3 separate regions of the Homo sapiens genome follow, and all the other regions are linked to region 1. The links are contacts of gene promoters, found by promoter capture Hi-C in human tissues and cell types (Jung and others, 2019). All regions are on one chromosome and are shown on one strand. The core of a region is centred on a gene start or on the middle of the fragment in contact, and the rest is flanking DNA. Distances in the headings are between cores, read along the strand shown.

What was found. The method cuts DNA at HindIII sites, captures the fragments that hold promoters and counts their contacts. A contact is called where the count stands out against the background at its distance.
Region 2: a fragment that was not itself captured here is called in contact with the fragment with the promoter of QRFP in region 1 in 3 of the 25 tissues and cell types used here (aorta, dorsolateral prefrontal cortex and spleen).
Region 3: a contact is called between the fragment with the promoter of AIF1L here and the fragment with the promoter of QRFP in region 1, in 2 of the 25 tissues and cell types used here (mesendoderm cells and pancreas).

The regions. Positions count from the first base shown.
Region 1 is chr9:130,894,070-130,898,061 of GRCh38, reverse strand. QRFP (pyroglutamylated RFamide peptide) reads left to right here and starts at 1,250. Exons shown (of 3, transcript NM_198180.3): 1 at 1,250-1,485; 2 at 2,081-2,365. RefSeq lists enhancers at 1,755-2,441, 2,442-3,129, 3,918-3,992. The HindIII fragment of the contact is 19,380 bases long and covers 228-3,992 here.
Region 2 is chr9:130,720,510-130,724,562 of GRCh38, reverse strand. It overlaps a transcript of ABL1 not described here. Among named protein-coding and RNA genes, the nearest start is that of EXOSC2, 29 kb to the right of the region's middle. The HindIII fragment of the contact is 5,418 bases long and covers 1-4,053 here.
Region 3 is chr9:131,093,585-131,097,916 of GRCh38, reverse strand. It overlaps AIF1L (allograft inflammatory factor 1 like), which reads right to left and starts at 1,386. Exons shown (of 6, transcript NM_031426.4): 1 at 1,257-1,386; 2 at 1,054-1,115. The coding sequence starts at 1,287. It overlaps LAMC3 (laminin subunit gamma 3), which reads right to left. Exons shown (of 28, transcript NM_006059.4): 28 at 3,444-4,332. RefSeq lists enhancers at 550-1,049, 3,090-3,591. The HindIII fragment of the contact is 10,554 bases long and covers 1-4,332 here.

The DNA.
Region 1 (3,992 bases), core at 1-2,500:
AGGGAACCCCACAGGCTTCGAGGTGGTCCACGGACTCCACCCCCAGAGCGGCTTCCTGCACCACCAGCCCCACCACCCTCACGCCTCGCCTCCCTGCATTTACCCGACAGCAGAAAAAGCCTCCAGCGCTGGAAGCCGCCCCGATGGGTACTGCCACTCTTGGACTGATCTAGCCCCGGCCACCCTGTGCATCCAGGCAGCCCAGACCCTGCCTATCTCGGCTGCTGGTGGCAAACAGTGGCACAGTTGTCACCCCCAATTGCTCAAGAGGTGGGGGAACCCAGATGCTTCCAGGGGCCCAGGAAGGGCATCTGAAAGCAATTTTTCCGTCCAGGAGTTCCAGGGGTGGAGGGGACCAGGCAAGTCCCTGGAGTCAGAAGGTTTGGCACCAAATCCAACGCCTGACTGGGCTCCAGGCACCCCGGTCTGAAGGGGGCAGGCGGGGACCTGAGGCTGGGGAACATGTGGGCCACGTGGGGACCCCTCATCCTCACCCCAATATTGCTCCCACCCCAGACCAGCCCCTCACATGCAGGACATTCTGTGACCACCTCTCAGAGCCACAGACCTCAGTCCCGCAAAAGGACTCCGGGCCCTGGTGGTTTCAAAGCAGAACCTTTTCTGGGAGCTCAACATGTCAAACACAGCAAAGTGGGGCTTGGCCTGAGGGGCACAGGGGCGCGTGCAGGGCACAGGGGTGTGTGCGGGGCACAGGGGTGCATGCAGGGCACAGGGGTGCGTGCGGGGCACAGGGGTGCCTGCGGGGCACAGGGGTGCATGTGGGTCACAGGGGTGCCTGCGGGGCAGAGAGGTGCCTGTAGGGCAGAGGAGTGTCTGTGGGGCAGAGGGGTGCGTGTGGGGCAAAGGGGTGCCTGTAGGGCAGAGGGGTAGCCTGTAGGGGAGTGGGGTGCCTGTAGGAGAGGGGTGCCTGCGGGATTGGACCCCATGTTGCCTTCCCCAACTTCCATGGCCATTCCTGAGGAATTCTGCAAAGCACAGCTTGGGAACTTGAACCTCGCTTTACACCAAGGGAGCACTGAGGCACCCAGAGGGCAGGCATCCGGTCCAGGCTCATAGCACGGTAGAGACCCACCCTGGGCGGCACCCCATGGATAACTGGTGCCCGCTGTCAGAATCAACCAGCACTAACCAGGGAGACAGAAGGACACCACACCTCCCGTCTCACGAGCACACACACGTGTACGCACGTGTGCACATACTCATGTGGGGGCATACACACACATGCACACACAGGACAGGGGCACCTCAGGCCATCGGAGGCAGCCCTGGCCTGGGGGATGGAAGCTGGTTCTGGCCAGCAAAGCTCAGTCATCGGCTTCAATCCGCAGACCCTCCGCCCGAACCTGGGCGCTCAGCCCCGAAGTGGAGGATCGAGATTCCAGTGCCTTCCTCAGGTCTCTGGGGAAGTGTCCACAGGCTCTCTATTCCCATGACTTCTGATCCCCCAGCAGCCGGGATGCAGGGGTAGGTCGGCTGGGTGAGGGCCCCTGGAATGGGGGAGGCCCTCTGTGCTCAGTTCCTGACAGTGGTGGGGTGGGGCTGCCTCATCACCCCCCTGCCTGCTCTCAGTGGAGGGAGAATCTCTGCCGGGCAAGGAGCAGAGGCTGGGTCCTCCTGCTGGCCTCCCAGAGGTGACCCTCGGTGACAGTAGGGGGCCACCCAGGGTATGCGGTGGGAGGGGCTGGGGGCCACAGGCAAATGCTCCACTGCTGTCCTGGGCATCTGCCGTGCCCCCTTGGTTGGTTCCTGGGTAACAGGCCGCTGAGGGCTCCACCTGCCGGGGAGGTGCACCTGGCTTAGCCGCGCAGCCCGGTGCCTGTGAAACACGGGCCTCATGGGTGTCTGTGGCTTTCCTGCCCATGAAAGCCATCCTGCAAGCTGGGCAGTAGGTGTGTCGGGTAGATGTCCACCCACCCCATGTCCTCTCCGGAGCGTGAGGTGCCAACCCAGCAAAGGCAGGACCCTTAGGGTGAAGGGTGGGCTTGGAACCCCCGCCAAGGGACTCGAGGGTCTGTGCCCGCAATTTGCAGTTAATGATGCTGTCTGCTCTCCTCCAAAGGGCAGCCCGCCTGCCCTCTCATCAGACTACATCCTGTGTGAGGTTGTTTTTATCAACGCGGTCAGCACTGCCCCTCTTCAACAACAGCGTCCCCAATGGAATCCCAGGGTCAGGAATGCGCAGCAGGCAGTCGGCAGAGCAGCAAGCGCACCGCGGGCCATATAAAGCAGGGAGAGCCCAGGGGCCATGCCTCCTGGACGAGGACCCAGAGCAGCTCTGCCCAGCCCAGCCCCGGAGCCCAGCGATCCACCAGCCAGCCTTCCTGGGAGCAGTCCCAGCCACACGGTGAGCATAGCTGCCCTGTCCCCAGCAGGAACCCCAGCTCAGGCCCTGCCCAGGCAGGAGCCAGGCATGGGCAGTCAGAGGGCACACAGAAGCACAGGGAGGGAGTGCCCGGAGAGGGGACACCAGTGCCTCCCCTGCCAACAGCCCAGAGCAGCACAGATTGGTCACGGCTGCCCTGCCAGGGCTGGGACCCAGCCTCACCCGTGCTTTTCCTGTCCCTTCCTGGCTGTGGGGCCTGAAGCCCTGACTCGCGCTGGGGCCGCCTGTCCCGTGATGAGCATCCCCACTTTCTACCAGATTCTTGAAGGGGTGCATGAACCCCTAAAAGGGGTGAAGGGCCACTCCAGGGCCTGCTCTGTCAGGCTGTCTCCTTTCTAGACACCCAGAGGCCACTCCCGGGTGGATTTATCCACCAGGATGCAACGGTCCCTGGTCCACATCGCAGTCAGCAAAGTGCTTCCTATGGGGAGGAGGGAATGGGCTGGGCCGCTGCAGAAAGTCACCTCGTGGAAGCCCCCACTCTGCCTGCGCCCTGATGGAAAGGTTTTCCTGGCAGCATGAGGGAGGTCACTCCATCCCTGGGGGACGAAAGCTTAGAAGAACTGGATTTGGGTAGAAAGTGGGGTTGCATGTATTATTTTTTTAAAAGCTTCCTGGCTGAGCTCGCTTCTTTGAAATGTGTTCGAGGGAGCCATTTCTGGAAAGGGCTCTGGGGACTCCTGTACTGTCTTCTCCAGGGCCGGTGCTCTCTAGTCTAGCCTCAGTTTGACTCTGCGGAGGACAAGCCAGCTCCAGCTCCCCCGCGGTCATTGTCAAAAAGGTTTTCTTTGCCAGACAAGGGAGCAAGTGTTACCAAGGCAGGTTCATTACAGGAGGCTGGGTTTCAGATCCCCCGAGTGCCATGTGGAGTACAGAGGAGGGAGTTAGGGCACGCCTTCCTGAGTCAAGCCCAGTTAGACCTGGGATTGAACTCTAGCTCTGGCACTGATAAGGCCATGAGATCTGGGGCAAGTCACCTCAGCTGTTTGAGACCGACACCACCCCTGTGAAATAGGAGGGTTGGGAGTACCTAGCAGATATGTATGCTTCTTGAAGAAGCCGTCTGGCCATTAGAATCATGAATCCAGAGCCTCCACTTTCTGGCTGTGTGGCCTGGGCACAATCTCAGTTTTTCTGACAGTTTTGTTGCCTGAAAAAGTGGGACTGGCCGGACCTACCAAGCAGGAGTACTATGAAGATGAAGTACAATCACATGTGTGAGCTCTTGGCTCAGAGCCTGGCAGACCTACGGTGCCCAGGCCCCAGTGGTGTCCACACACTCCTTCCCAGGTGGGTGTCCGAATTAGGCCAGGACCATCCAATCTGTTTCTGGCTTTCAGGAGCAACTCGTTCCCACGTGAAAGAGACATTAGCAGGATGTCCCAGCTAAACAGCATAGCTAGACCCATTTATTATCCAGTTGAACACTAAGGGAGATTGATGCTTTTAACTTTCCACCCCATGGCTCTGCAATGATATGGCCATTTTATAATAAGAGAAAAATGAGCATACATTTGCTGACTCTCCCGGGGCCGCCTGGGCACTGCTCTGCCAGCCAGCAGCGGTGGATTTACGGTGCTAAGCTGCC
Region 2 (4,053 bases), core at 954-3,453, 170 kb after region 1:
GCTGGGATTACAGGCATGAGCCACCGAGCCCAGCCAAGAATTTCAAAGATTAGCCACACAATAAATGTTCTGGTTTTTAAAAATACAAAAATAAATAAATAAAATAAACATATATAAGTATATTCATTGGGAAAGAAACCCCAGAACCAGATAAAAAGTCCTAGGATACATAAGAAAATAAGTTAGCTATTTGAGAACTTTCATTCCTTGTAAGTGAATAAAAAGTTTAATTTCTCATTTAGTCCATTTAATATCATTCTTATCAAGAATTTTTTTTATGGAGAGCCTATGTATTCAGCATTATGCTGGGGAAACAGAAAATGAGATGAAACCTGCATTCACAAGCTTACAGTTTACTTGAGGAGTTCGAGGCTGCAGTGAACAGTGATCATATCATTGTACTCCAGCCTGGGCGACAAAGCAAGACCTTATCTCTTAAAAATTTTTTTAAAAGGCCACGCATGGTGGCTCACGCCTGTAATCCCAGCACTTTGGAAGGCCAAGGCAGGTGGATAACGAGGTCAGGAGATCGAGACCATACTGGCTAAGATGGTGAAACCTGGTCTCTACTAAAAATACAAAAATTGGCCAGGTGTGGTGGCGGGCGCCTGTAGTCCTAGCTACTCGGGAGGCTGAGGCAGGAGAATGGCATGAACCCAGGAGGCGGAACTTGCAGTGAGCCAAGATCGCGCCACTGCACTCCAGCCTGGGTGACAGAGCGAGACTCCATCTCAAAAAAAAAAGTTAAAAAAAAGTTAAAAAATAAAAAACAAACCTACCTACGTTTCAACACTCTCTTCCATGAAACTCACATAAAACTATTAGGAAATACTACTAGGAAGTATATGATTATGTATTCATTTGTGTTGCAGAAGAGTTACAAGGGCAGAAGTTACAGAAAATTTAATGAGGACCAGAGATGTAAAATATGGTTTCAGAAGGGAGGGGGGACTGGAAGAGAGTGTTGAAAGGTTAAGCAGGTTTGTTTTTTGTTTGTTTGTTTGTTTTTTACTTTTAAAGGATAGGGTCTTGCTTTATCACACAGGCTGGAGTACAATGATATGATCACAGTTTGCTTCAGCCTCGAACTCCTGGACTCAAGTAATCCTTCTGCCTCAGCCTCCCAAGTAGCTAGACAAGCACAGGACATTATTATGCCTAGCTAACTTTTTTATTTTTAGTACTAATAGGGTGTTGCTATGTTGTCCAGGCCACTCTCTCAAACTCCTGGTCTCAGAGGACCGTCCCACCTTGGGTTCCCAAAGTGCTGGGATTACAGGTGTGAGCCACTGCACCTGGCCAGCAGGTAGGATCTGAACACACAGGGGAGTGACATCAGGGGCACAACTACCAAAAAGGCAGGGACGAACACAGCAAGGAGTCAGGGAACTGCAGAGGCACAGGGCAGAGAAGGCCTTCGGGAGACCTCCTCTTACTGAAGCCCATCCTCAGTAGCCATTTTAATCTTTTTACCCCCTAGTCACAGAAAATATGCCCGACACATTCCTATGGGTTTAATTCCCAGCTAAATCATGTTAACACATCCCTCTCCCTCCCATTCAAAAAATGCTTCTATTTGCAACACACTTCACAACACATCAGTGTGTTCACACTTGGAGATCTGAAGCACAAGCACGGTTCTGTCCTGAACTGATACAAAATGATTTCACATTTTTTCCCACTTTCATTTTCTTTGACAACATGCTTCATTTAAATGAAGTAAAACTCTTTTGGTCAAATCATCTTTGATCATCTTTCTTTACTTACCCCACAATTGAAACTTCTGTTTTCTTCTATATTACAAATTTCTTAAAATGGGTAGTAAGGTTTCATGAAAAATAAGAAGGCCATACAAAATGTATTAGACTATTGGAAACAACTGAATGCTTATAAAAAATGTACATACATGGCCAGGTGCAATGGCTCACCTGTACGATCCCATTGCTTTGGGAGGCTAAGGCAAGAGGATCACTGGAGCCCAGGAGTTCAAGGCTGCAGTGAGCTATGACTGTGCCACTACACTCCAGCCTGGGTGACAAAGCAAGACCCTGTCTCTAAAATAAAGTACATACCTCCAATTTTGCATTTTCACAGTCCACGTGCCACAATCCAATCCCTAGCATTAAGTAGATGGATATAATCTTTCCAAATAACCTTTTTATTTTTTTTTGAGATGGAGTCTCGCTCTGTTGCCCAGGCTGGAGTGCAGTGGTGTGATCTTGGCTCACTGCAATCTCTGCCTCCCAGGTTCAAGCGATTCTCCTGCCTCAGCCTCCTGAGTAGCTGGGATTACAGGCATATGCCACCATGCCCTGCTAATTTTTGTATTTTTAGTAGAGATGGGGTTTCACCATGTTGGTCAGGCTGGTCTCGAACTCCTGACTTCAGGTGATCCACCCGCCTCAGCCTCCCAAAGTGCTGGGATTACAGGCGTGAGCCACCACGCCCAGCCTGTCCAAATAACCTCTTTGAGAATCGGATAGCCAGGCACGGTGGCTCACGCCTGAAATCCCAGCACTTTGGGAGGTCGAGCCAGGTAGATCATGAGGTCACGAGATCAAAACCATCCTGGCTAACAGGGTGAAACCCCGTCTCTAATAAAAATACAAAAAATTAGGCTGAGGCAGGAAAGAGAATCGCTTGAACTCGGGAGGTGGAGGTTGCAATGAGCTGAGATTGTGCCACTGCACTCCAGTCTGGGCAACAGAGCAAGGCTCTGTCTCAAAAAAAAAAAAAAAAACAAAAAAAAACCTGACAAATTTAACTTTAATGCCTATAGGATCCAATAATTGCACTTCCTCCCACCTTCTAATGTATACAGATACTTAGTATAATTTTATTTTATTTTATTTTGAGACAGGGTCTCACTCTGTCACCCAGATTGGAGTGCAATAGCACCATCACAGCTCACTGCAGCCTTGGCTTCCCAGGCGCAGGTGATTCTCCCACTTTAGCCTCTTGAGTAGCTGGGATTACAGGCGTGTACCACCACGCCCAGCTAATTTTTTGTACTGTTAGTAGAGATGGGGTTTCGCCATGTTGCCCAGGCTGGTCTTGAATTCCTGGGCTCAAGTGATCCATCTGCCTTGGCCTCCCAAAGTGCTGGGATTACAGGCATGAGCCACCGCACCTGGCCTTAGTATAATTTTAAGAGTAATGAGAATTAGTGTTTGTTTTGTTTTTTTGAGACAGAGCCTTGCTCTGTCACCCAGGCTGGAGTGCGGTGGCATGATCTTGGCTCACTGCAACCTCTGCTTCCCAGGTTCACGTGATCCCTCTGCCTCAGCCTCCCATGTAGGTGGGACTATAGGTGTGTGCCACCATGCCGACTAATTTTTGTATTTTTAGTAGAGACGAGGTTTCACCATGTTGGCCAGGGTGGTCTCGAACTCCTGACCTCAAGTGATCCGCCCGCCTTGGCCTCCTAAAGTGCTGGGATGACAGGCGTGAGTCACAGCGCCCGGCCTACAGTGTTGATTTATCAAGTGTCTATTATTTTAAATAAAGTTTTGAGAACCATAAGTGGTTTTACCTGATGGTAAATATTTTTTTTTTTTTTGAGACAGGGTCTTGCTCTGTTGCCCAGGCTGGAGTGCAGTGGCGCAATCACAGCTTACCACTGCAGCCTCGACCTTCATTTCAATAAAAGGCAACTCTATTCTTCCAGTTATTCAGTTCGAAAACCTGAGAGTCACACTTGGCCCCTCTCACACCCCCATATCCCACATCTAATCCGAGAGCAAATCTTGTCGGTTCTGACCCTCCACCCAGTGCCACCACTTTGGTCCAAGCATCATCACTCTTACCTGGCTCTGTGCAATCAATGCCCCCGTGGAATCCCTGCTCCCTTGTCCTCCTTCAGATCATAGCAGCCAGAGAGATTCTATTTCATACTGAAACATACATCAGATAGTATAGTCCCCTCGGAAAATTCTCCAAGGCCTTCCCACATCATATGAATCAAAGTCAAAATCCTTGAAATGGGCCAATAAGGCCACCCTCTCCTTCAGCCATTCTCTTCCCACCCTCCATTTTACCTCCTGCATCTCTCCT
Region 3 (4,332 bases), core at 137-2,636, 200 kb before region 1:
AAGGAAACTGGGAGACATCCACCTCAGGAAATAATGCTAGTTCTGTGAGTGCTTCCTGAATGCTGGGTGCTGGGCCATGCAGGCCACGGGCCTTCCCTCTCTGAGCCTGCACAATGCCCTGCTTGGAGATGAGAGGCCCTTTGCTGAGGACCACAGAGCTGGCACACAGTGGAGGCCAGATCTGAGCCCAGGTCTTGCAGAACTTTAAAGCCACTGGCTGTGCTGCCTTTGAGCTTTGGCCAACCCAGACAGGTCCTGATATCTTTCCTTATCTTCTAGAATCTATGTAAATTTATGGAGCTCTCACTGGATGCCTGGCAACAACAGGAAAGATTTCTTTTGAGAAATCCACCAGGACCAGCAAGAAAAGCATTGAATCCCTTAAGGCAATCTTTCCTGAAAGTTGGAGTGAAGAGGAGTGGTGTGTTTGAGGGAGGCGGGAGGCTGGAGACCACGGGGAAGTGCCAGGATCTCTACGCCCATCAGAGTCTTCTATTTGTACTTTTGAATCCCTTATAACAACAATAGCTAAGGCCAGGCGTGGGGGCACATGCCTGTAGTCCCAGCTACTCGGGAGGATGAGGAGGGAGGACCGTTTGAATCCCAAAGGTGGAGGCTGCAATGAGCTGAGATTGGGCCACCGAACTCCAGCCTGGGCGACAGACCAGCAAATGACCCGGAGCCTGTGTTCTGAGCTGGAGAGATCACTGGCCTAGGGCCCTTCCCGCGCCAAATCCTTGGGCTGCTCCCAAGCGGGCTTGCGGGGAGCCACGAGCCGGCTGGCATCCGAGCTCCTGACCCGGCCCCACCTCCCCAGTCCCCAGTTGCAAGAGTAACAACTTGCAACCCGAGACCGGAGGCGGGAGGCGGAGGCGGACCTACCTGGAGTCGGAGGCGACGGGGCTGGGGGCGGAGGGAGGCACCTGAGGGAAGCCCAGGGGAAGGGAAGGAAGAGGGTAGATCTGGAGGCGGGCACGGCCTCGCGGAAGGAGAGGTGGCACCCGCGCAGCGCGCGGCTCGGGACTCGCGTGCTGCCCTGGGCGCGGGGCTTACCCGGTTGATCTCGGCCAGCCTCCTCTCCTGCCGGGCTTTGAGCAAGCCGAACGCCTTCCCTCCTGGAGGAGACAAAGAGGCGGCCTGGGAAGCGGGGTCCTCTTCGGGCCACGCGCCCCCGTCCCCGCCCGCTTCCCGCGCGCGGTGGACCCCGCGGTCCGCCCGGCGCGCACAGGTGGCTGCTCGGGGACGGCGGCGCCTACCTTGGAACCTGTTGCTGAGCTCGCCCGACATGGCGAGCGCGGGGCTCCCGCCGGCTCCAGGCTTCGCGGACGCGGCGAGGGACGAGGAGGAGGCACAGGCGCCTGGTCCGGGCTCCGGCTAGCTGCGTGTGGCCGCGGGACCGAGGGGCGGAGGAACGGCGCGGGCGGCCGACACACCCCTCCCTCCGCTGCCGGCCCCTCCCTCCCTCCCTCCCGCCTCGCCCCTCCCCTCCCGCCTCTCCCCTCCCCTCCCGCCTCTCCCCTCCCCTCCCGCCACCCGCTCCGCGGGCTTCAAAGCGGCTATTATGCGGGACGCTGAGCCCGCCGGCCGACCCCTCTGCTGGAGGACGCGGAAAGTGCAAAGCGCGGGGCGGCCGCACCCCTCCTCTCTGCCCCTCCCCGGACCTCAGCAAGTCCCTGCCACACAAATGAAATGCGAGGATCTTAGCATGAACTCCATGGGGTGGTTGTGAGGACCAAGTGCCGTCGGGGAGTCGGCGCTCAAACATCACTGCTGCCTTTGGGGCAGTGCGGCTGCTGTGACAACAGTGGCCCGTCAAATCAATTGGAATGAATTCGTGTCTTGTTAATAAAAGAGATTTCTTGGGCACTCACAGGCACTTTGCACCGTACACCAGTCATTTCATTCTCAAAACTCCATGAAATAGGACTTGGCATTCCCATTTCCAGAAGAGAAAAGTCAGGAAGCTGGAGCTGGGGCGCAAGGCCACCAGGAGGAAAGACCAGCCCATGACTCCAGGAAGAGCGGAGCTCAGGATGCAGGATAGGGTACCTGTGGCCAGGGTGACCATGAAGTCTAGTGTCCAAATCAGGACAGCCAGAGTCAAGGGAGCACTCCTCATAATGATGCTGGGCCACAGGCATAGACAGGCGCTGTCCAGGGCAGGCAGCGCTAGGAATGGCCCCACCGTGCATCTGACTCCTAGGGTAGGGACCCTGAGATCATCTTTCTTATTTATTTATTTTTTTCGAGGCAGAGTCTTGCTCTGTTGCCCAGAGCTGGAGTGCAGCGGCTTGATCTCGGCTCACTGCAACCTTCGCCTCCGGGTTCAAGTGATTCTCCTGCCTCAGCCTCCCAAGTAGCCGGGACTACAGGCACACACCACCACGCCCAGCTAATGTTTGTATTTTTAGTAGAGACGGGGTTTCATCATGTTGGCAAGGTTTGTCTCGAACTCCTGACCTAAGGTGATCCACCTGCCTCGGCCTCCCAAAGTGCTGGGATTACAGGCGTGAGCCACCACGCCCAGCCGAGATCATCATTTTTCTGTGGCTGTCCCTGGGGAGGGAAGTGCCCAGCAAGGGGCTAGGCAGAATGGGATGGGGCTGAGGTCAGGGCAGCAGTCCAGGGGGCAGGCCCCTCCTCCCCAGTAAGACCAGCGCCCACCTCTCCTAGCTGACGCTCCTCTGTCCACTCACCCAAGGGTTTGGATTTGGCCAAGCTGCATGACCTTAGGCGAGGCACTTGATCTGGCTGAGCTTCAGTCCCCTGATCTTCACAATGAAGTAACCCAGAACGCACTAAGCAGGGGCTTTTGTAACTTTGATGACTTGCTGGATGGTTTAAGCAGAGAGTAAAAGCTTAGCGTTACCACCCTTGGTGGATGGGAGCTGACTTAGGACAGAGCCCTCATAATGCACTTCCCTCTCCAGGCTCCAACAGCCTATTGCCCTGGCCGGTTGGGCTGGTTGGCTCCAGTCAGCCATCCTACAGGGCAGGGGCCACCCCACCTTCTGCTCAGCTGCTGGACTGCATTGCTAGCCAGATGTTCAACAGCTGCCGCATTCCACCCGGCAGCGGCCCCACCTCTGGGGCCAGAGAATAGATCAGCACATGCACCAGGCATGATCAGACTGCGTGAGTCACAACATGTCAGGCCCGAGTTCTCCACCCGTCGGGGATGCTGGGACTGAGCTGAGCTGGATCCCACGGCTTGAGTGGATAAAGGCTGAGTGCCAAGAGCAGGCACCAGGACGACTGTGTGCCATCGGCTGAGAAACTGGAGGGAGGCGGGAGGGGGACATCAGACCCTATCCCAGAGGTCTTGGAAGAACTCCATATTCTCGACATCACTTACACCAGACGCCAATCACCAAACTCACTGTGCAGCAGCAGCTCCCCCATCTTCGGCCTCTCCACCTCTGCCCAGACATCTAGGGACCAAGTCACTCCTAGCTCAGTTTAATCATGTCAATCCCCCACCGTAGCCTTGATTTTACAGTTTTCTGTGGAGGAGCACACCTCTTCTCTGAACACCATCTCCCATTAGGTTGGGGGGTGGCACCGGTCATCCATTATTGGCCTTAGATCCAGAGATCCTCATTATCCTGAACGGGGGTTGGTGGGACTTCACCTAAGCTGAGAAGCTGGAATCAGGACAGAGTCACCAGCTTGTCTCTTGCAAGCACTGGACCTGATGACATGTACACCTGGGGCCATTATGGGGGATGGCGGTAGGGGTGGGTGTCCTCTCCTATCAGGCACAAGAAAAACAAAGAAAGCCACTCTGCAAAGAGAAAAGAATGGGCCGGTTGCAGTGGCTCATGCCTGAAATCCCAGAACTTTAAGAGGCCAATGCAGGTATATCATCTGAGGTCAGGAGTTTGAGACCAGCCTGACCAACGTGGTGAAACCCTGTCTCTACTAAAAATACCAAAATTAGCTGGGCATGGTGGCAAGCACCTGTAGTCCTAGCTACTCGGGAGGCTGAGGCAGGAGAATTGCTTAAACCTGGGAGGTGGAGGATGCAGTGGGCAGAGATCATGCCACTGCACTCCAGCCTGGGCAACAGAGCGAGACTCCATCTCAAAAAAAATCAATAAATAAAGAGAAAAGAACGAAGCAGATACAGGAGAGGAGAGCAGAGACACAGACCAAGAAGAGAGGCGGGAGGGGGGAAGAGGGAAGCCAACCTATCCCGGAAGCCTCAGGCTCCCCTCCCTAGGCTATCTCCAACACGTGGCAGCCGTTTTTACTCCAGGGTTCCAAGCGACCCTCCCAACACCCCTTTTCTGCTGAAACCACCTCAGGAGGGGTTTGAGGCCTGCGGCCAAG